Regions from separate parts of the Homo sapiens genome. Here region 1 is linked to region 2. Evidence: promoter capture Hi-C in 16 types of primary human blood cells and fetal thymus (Javierre and others, 2016). All regions are on one chromosome and are shown on one strand. Each heading gives the region's core, a stretch centred on a gene start or on the middle of the fragment in contact. The rest is flanking DNA. Distances are from core to core; before and after follow the strand shown.

What was found. The method cuts DNA at HindIII sites, captures the fragments that hold promoters and counts their contacts. A CHiCAGO score of 5 or more calls a contact.
Region 1: a contact is called between a fragment that was not itself captured here and the fragment with the promoter of RPS6KA2-AS1 in region 2, in 1 of 17 cell types (non-activated CD4 T cells). The highest score is 5.1, in non-activated CD4 T cells.

What each region holds. Positions count from the first base shown.
Region 1 is chr6:167,139,636-167,143,153 of GRCh38, reverse strand. It overlaps LOC112267970 (a long non-coding RNA gene), which reads left to right and starts at 1,803. Exons shown (of 2, transcript XR_002956379.2): 1 at 1,803-2,127; 2 at 2,619-3,518. RefSeq lists an enhancer at 1-426. The HindIII fragment of the contact is 4,784 bases long and covers 1-3,518 here.
Region 2 is chr6:166,902,007-166,905,628 of GRCh38, reverse strand. It overlaps RPS6KA2-AS1 (RPS6KA2 antisense RNA 1), which reads right to left and starts at 1,931. Exons shown (of 2, transcript NR_046644.1): 1 at 1,841-1,931; 2 at 560-1,329. RefSeq lists enhancers at 814-1,494, 1,495-2,176, 3,347-3,622. The HindIII fragment of the contact is 22,454 bases long and covers 1-3,622 here.

The sequences.
Region 1 (3,518 bases), core at 484-2,983, 240 kb before region 2:
GGGCACCCCTGGCCACGGCCTCTCATGCATCCGTGTGAGATGGTGTCAAGTCAGGTCTGCAGAGGACTAGAGGGACAGGGGTCCTGAGAAGGCTTTTCCTAAGGAGAGGCTGCCTCCAGGCAGCACCACCTCTCCTGCCCCACCTGGACACCTGGGGGCCCAAAGGCAGCAAGGACCACCATGAAAGCCAGCTCGCCCAGGGTCACACACACTCCTCTGCCATCCTAGTGCACAATCAGATGTGCCGTGATTCACAAAGGTGGAAAAGGGAGGTTGCCTGGAATGTTTATTTACCTTTCTCCTTAATTTTGGACTTGCATAATGAATTCTTGGTGAGTAGAGATTACATCATTTTACATATCTTCTTTTTATTAACTTAATATCCTAAAAGTCATTCTACATTATCTGCCATAAAAATATATAGATGCTGTATTTCCTGATTTATACATATATTTATTCTGCTATGTATATGTTCACATAGCAAAAAAATAAAATAAAATAAAAAGGAAAGAGCCAATCTACTATTGTGAATGTTAAAAGCAACAAGGAGAAAAATGAACAGCAGCAATAGTGCAGTGATATTTTTCTGAAGATTTTACGCCACGGGTGCAAGAAGATAGTATAAGATTGTATTAATTTCACATACTTATTATCCAAAATAAACTGTAGAGTTTCCCCGCTAAGACATACATGTGACATTTGTCCTTTGACACGTTGCAGAATTAGGGCAACAGCCGGGAAGGTGAGCGTCTCCAGGAGCAGGTGCAGGCGCTGGGAGGCGGCTCGCGCACCAGAGGGCAGCAGCGCCCTGTCCAGGGCAGAGGCACCCCTGGAAGGCTCAGGAGCTCGGCTCCTGGTGAAGCCAGGACTTTAGGAATCGCATTTGCTCCCCACTGGCGTGAAGAGAAGTGCTAGCTCATCTATTTACATTCTAGGTTCAGAAAGGGGACCCCAAAATGTTATGTGACATCCAAGAATCCAGTTCATCTTTCAATGTTAGGCAGAAAAATGAAACCTTATTCAAATGTTAACACTAATTCTAAATACAGTATTCTGAACATTTAGATGGACCGGCTGTGGGCACTGTGGTAATTATTAGTGGGCTACAGGAGAAGAGGCCCCTGTGTACAGGGCGCATCCCAGGTGACCCTAGACTTGCTGCACAGGGCCAGCCATATCTCCTGAGTGGCCTTGGCCTAGTGGGCTGCCTCGGCTACCGCTTACCTACAGCTGGGGAGATGCAGACCCTCCCCTCTGGTTAAAGAGAGGAGTCCGGCTGCCTCCCCTCCATGAAAGTGGTTTTCTCAGTATCTCTCCCCCTTCTTACATGGTGTGTTTGTGATTACTGCGTGCACATGGACACACGGCCACCCGCTGAAGAGCATCCCAGACTTTCTTTCACCTGGCTGTAACCATGTGACTAAGTGAAGGCTCCCACCTTGGGAGCAGAAATGATTTCCACAGCTTTCCAGTTGTGTCTTTAAGGCCACCTGCTTCCCGCATCCTGCTTCTTGTTGTCTAGAATGGAAATGGGCTGGAAGGAGGTACAACAGCTCCCTTGTGCTGAGGACAGCCTCGAGGTGAGGAGAACAGCACTCTGCCCATCATTCCTGACTGTCCACCTGGACTCTCAATGAAGAGAGGAATCAGCCAAGAAGTAGAAAATAAATCGTTCCTGCCTTAGCTCTTATATGGATTTACCTAAATAAGGCATCAGGAATATCATGCTATTGGCAAATGCAACACAAGGAAGAAGATTGCAGCTGTGCATACTGAGTCATAAGCATGAAATCAGGTCACAGCAAACCACCCTGAGCTCTGCAAACACACCAGAGCGAGGGGCCTTCGTCCGAATGCTGCAGCCTCTTTATTCTGTGAGATCACAAAGACTGAGTGCATCAGATTCTCAGAGCAGCCAGCGGAATGTAGAATGCAGACCACCCCAAGCTCTGCAAACATGCCAGAGCGAGGGTGGCCTTCATCCGAATGCTGCAGCCTCTTTATTCCGTGAAATCCCTGAGCACAAAGACCATGAACATGTCAGGTTCTCCACACAGCAGCCAGCAGAATGTAGAATGCATCAGGGCAGCTGTGCTGTGAGGCTGCAATGACTCAAATCATCTAATGGTAAATGTAAAATGCCACCTCCTTCTGTGTCCTACAGGAGAATGTGCCCCAAGAATGAGATTAAGACAACAGAGAGCCCCGCTGAAGTCATGAGCCTTGAATGCTCTGTTTATACAAATAGGGGGCAGAATAGGGCCTGGCCTCCCCTGGGCTATCACAGCTGCTTTCTGCTGCCACAGCTGAGATCACCATCCCTAGGTCCACAGCTGAGAGGGGGATGTCTCTGCTTTGAATATGGAGGCCACTCAGACTTGGGGAAATTCCCCACTTCCCTGTCAGAGAACTGGGAAGGGAGGAGATGCCACACCTCAGGGCAGAGGTCAGGGCAGTAGGTGAACCACTGGGATCAGATACTGAAACTTGCACCACGGGTGGGTGCTGGAGCTCAAGGCTGTGCACGGGTGGGTGCTGGAGCTCAAGGCTGTGCAGGTTAGATAGGCAGGCGTTGTCTCACTGGGGACCACAACCCTTCTCTGTCATCTCTCTGTGAGGTCTGCACCTGAAAAGCCGAAATGGGAATGAATGTTTGGAACATAACTTATTGGAAAGGCGGAAAGTATGTACAAAGAAATTCTCACATGTTTCAGGTTAACTTTAATAGGAAAATATGCCCCACCTTCAGGGAAATAGATGTTAGGGGCTGGATGGTGTCCCCTTAAAATTCATATGTCAAAGTCCCAACCCTCAGTATCTCAGAAAGTTGTGATATTTAGAGACTGGGATTTTAAACCGGTGATTAAGTTAAAAGGGCCTTTTCGGTGGGCTGTAATCCAATCTGACTAGTGTCCTTATAAGAAGCGTCAGCTCACAGAGGAAAAGCCATTTGAGGCCTCAGGAGAAACCAACCCTGCCAACACCTTAACCAGCCTCTAAAAATGTGAGAAATAAATGTGTTGTTTAAGCCACTCAGTCTGTAGTATTTTGTTAGGGCAGCCCCAGCAAACTAATGTCCTAGCAGACTATAGCATGTACACTGCGTTCATTGAGACCACATTCTCTGTACACATATCTCCAGAATGCCTGTAATTTGCACACATCACCACAAGTCTTAAAAGGATTTGAAAATATTGTGTTTTTCTGGCCTCATTTAAAATCCAGTCTGTCTGTCCTGAGAAGCAAATCACGTACAGTTTGCAAGGTAATACTTAAGTACCTAAATGTTGAGATTTACATACAGTAAGATCTCACGTATCCAGAAATAATTGAATACTTGGAGGTTCTAACACATTGCCCCTATTAATAGACAATTCTGACAAGCGCAGATAGCTGATGTCCCCACCAAACATATAGAATAATGTTTGCAATGAGTGGAGAGGAGGACTAACGGCAGACACAGTTAAGGCTCAGGAAGAGACGGCCAGAGCCTGAGAGCAAAAAGATATGGGGAGAAT
Region 2 (3,622 bases), core at 682-3,181:
GATACACACGGTGCTGTGAGCACAGGGAGACCCGGCACCACGCAGCCCCCCATCCCTCTTCAGGGAGACCTGGTACCACCCAGCCCCCCTATCCCTCTTCAGGGAGACCTGGTACCACCCAGCTTCCTCATTCCTCTTCTCTCTGCTTCTCCATTCTATTTCATTTCTTGACCAGAGAATCTCCCCCTCCCACTGTCTCTGTGGTTTCCAGAATGGAAAAAACGTAAATATCGCTATACAACGCCCGACCCCTGCCGCCCCAAAGAATCTCAGGAGGTCAAGACCCCTGGATCTCCTTGCACCTCTGCTGTGGATTCCATGCAAGGCTTCACAAACATGCTTTTATGTGCGTGTCCAGCAGCAGAAGCCATGTGAGTGTGCAGGAGACAGGGAGCCCTTTCGAGCCTCCATGGAAAGCCAGCTCGCTTGGGCTGTGCTGGAGGCAGTGCCCCTCTCTGCTGGCTGCAGTAAAGGCTGTGAGCAAAAGGAGGGAGGCTGAAGGCCAGTAAAATAGAATCATATTTACAGTGATACAAAGCCACGTGCCACACTTTCTACTCGGTGGTGGGAATGACAGCATAAGGGTTTAATGCCTACATACAGTTAGGATCAGGCTGGAATTTGGGTGTTTGGCTCCCCATGTTTTAACTCACATTCCTTTAATTGGGTCATAGTCCTGCCCTCGCTGTCATTTTTGCCAGCTGCATGGTTCCCTCTGAGCTGCAGAATCAGGTAGACCAGAAGACCCAGGTGATGCTGGTGTTTACCTTCTTAGCTGGGAATTAGTTGGCAGCGGCCGCATGGCTCTGACATTCATTTCAAATATAACCTGCAAGGAGCAAGGAAGAAACCGCAAGCAACACAACTTTTTCGCCCTCAAATTACATCCCAGCTGAGACCGCTGCCTGGGATTTTCTCAGCATCCTTCCTGCCCCTCAGTAGGACATGCTGAGCTGTTCTGAGCCATTTCACCTGTGTTGGGAGCTGTGGCGGGAAATCAGACGGAGCGGCGTCTTGTAGCTCATTTGCCTCACGGTGGCTCCTGCTGCCTTTCTCCTCTTCCCATGTGGCCAGTGGCCAGCCAGCCCCTGCTGTCAGCACTTCTGAGCTAAGATCTCTCTGACTCCACAGGAACTGGCAGTGGGAATCCAAAAGTCACCATGGTGACGACTCACTTAGGAGTGTGCTGTGTTTCCTGATCGCGCAGCAGCCGTGGGGGCAGGCGGGGCAGCTGCGCTTCCACCCACTCTGAAGTTCACCCAAAGCTGCCCACTGGCCGGTGTTCCTCCAGCGTGGGCCTCAGCCCGCAGCATTGGCGTCCCCTGGGAGCTGTTTAGAAATGCAAATGTCGGGTCCTGCGCAGTCTTGCTGCTCAGAGTCTGCATGTTCCCAGGGCCCAGGAGGCTGCTGCATGCCGTGAAGTGTGAGGAGCCGGGTTGGGGTGGCCCACCCTGTGCACAGAGCCGGGAGGTGCCGTGGCCTGCACTGCCCCACCCCGACCTTCTGGCAGAAAGTCCAGGCTTTCCCTGCTCTACGCCGACTCCCACCATAGTCTTATTGAGATCTCATATGAGGAACCAACTCCATTCACAGCTGAGGGGCTGAATCAAAGCACTGGGGGCAGCAGTGCGGGGTGGGTGAGACCCTGTCTGGAAAATGGGACAGCGTTAGGGAGGAGTGTGTCCATGCAAGGAAGGCTTAGAAATGCTCCCACACATGTTGGGGTCTCAAAGTTTCAGCAGTGGTCACTGCCTGAGAAGCTCCGGCCAGGTCAGAGGTGCCAGGGCACAGGTCAGGAAGCAGCTGAACCCCTGCCTGCTAGCCAAGCTCCGGTTCTCACCCACTGTGCCTGGGTCACACCGTCCTATCCGGATTCCACTGGTATTCACATTCCTGGGATGTGGCGGAGTTCCAGCTGGGATCCGGCTGCCCATCGCTGTGGCGGGAAGAGAGCTGCTGAACAGCATGCGAGACCCCTTTGCAGAGGGGCACTGCTGCGCTGCCAAGGCAAAGCCTGAACAGGAGGAGGAGACGAGGGTCACAGTGATAATACCCCTTGGAGGGCAAGCTGGGGTGGGCCGAGGAAGGGGCCGGGGCAGAGCTTGAGGAATCTGCTGAAGGAACAGCCTGTTCAGGCTGACTCAGGTCGGCCCACAACTCCCTTCACCACCCCAGGTCCTTTGAGGTACAGAGGAGGCAAAGGAGAGAGCAGCTTTGCAGCCTGCAAAAGGTCTCCTGGCCCAGGCTTGTCTAATTTGCAGCTCTAGGCTCCCGTTCACAGCCCCGCATGTCTCCATGCTGGTTAGGATGATGCTAGCCCTGTGATAAACACATCCCATCATTTCACTAGCTTCACGCTCTGGAAGTTTTATTTCTTACTCATGTCCCTGTCCAGTGCTGTTGCTCCTGGTACTAGGCAGCACTCCGCATAATGAATCAGGAGCCGAGGCTCGTCAGTGCTCCACGGGGTGACTCAGGGTGCAAGGCTTCTTGTGTCCAGTGGCTCCGTCATCTCTCTTTCACCTTATTGCTGGGCTGCATCTTTTTTTGTGCCATGAACCCCTTCCAGTGGCCTGATGGTCTCAGAATAAGATTTTTTAACACATTAAAGAAAACACAAGACAGCAAGGAATAGGATATGAAAATGTTTTGTACTGCCAGCAAAACACCAGTCCTGCTGAAGCTACTGTGCTTTTTTGCCTACACTCATAATTGATGGAAATACTAAATATGAGGTACAAATAATGCAGTTGTTTTCCCATTGGAGGTCACAGGCCCCTGAATCTAACCCTGGGTTTACAGCTGTAGCCAAGAGTCAGGGAGAAGAGTGTGGAGAAGGCACAGCCGCTTCCTTGTGTCTGTGCTGGGAAGGACACCGGTCCCTCCACGCCCCACTGGCCAGCACCAGTGACAGAGCCACATCTAGTGGGTGGGCCGTGAGAAAAGAAACACTTCAGCTGAATTAAATTTAAAAGCATGTAATTGAGCAATAAACAATTTGCGAATCAGGCAGCCTTCTAAGCCAGAGTAGACTCAGAGACTCAGGCGCAGCCGCATGATGGAAGAACGCACCCTGTGTGTTCACCCGGCGTTCTTCCCTCTATGCGATTGCACAGCGTTTTCCCCAGTGTGTATTTACCCGGCGTTCTCCACCCTGTGTGATCGCCCAGCGTTCTCCCCTGTGTGTGTTCCCCTGGCGTTCTCCCCTCTGTGCATCCACCAGGCGGTCGCCCTTCTGTGTGTTCCCGCGGCGTTCTCCCCATGTGTTCACGTGGCGTTCTCTCCCCTGTGTGTTCCCACGGCGGTCTCTTTACTCTGTGCGTTCCTCGGCATTCTTTCTCCTGTGTGCGTTCACCAGGGGTTCTCCTTTCTTTGTGCGTTCACATGGCATTCTCCACCCTGTGCGTTCGCTCGGCGTTCTCCCCTCTGTGCCTTCACCAGGTGTTCTCCCTTCTGTGTGTTCGCACTGCATTCTCCCTTCTGTGTGTTCACGTGGCGTTCTCTCCCCTGTGCGTTCAAACTGCGTTCTCTTTACTGTGTGCGTTTCCCCGGCGTTCTCCCCGCGTGTGCGAGTTCACGTGGCGTTCTTTCTTTGTGCGTTCACATGGCGTTTCCCCACTGT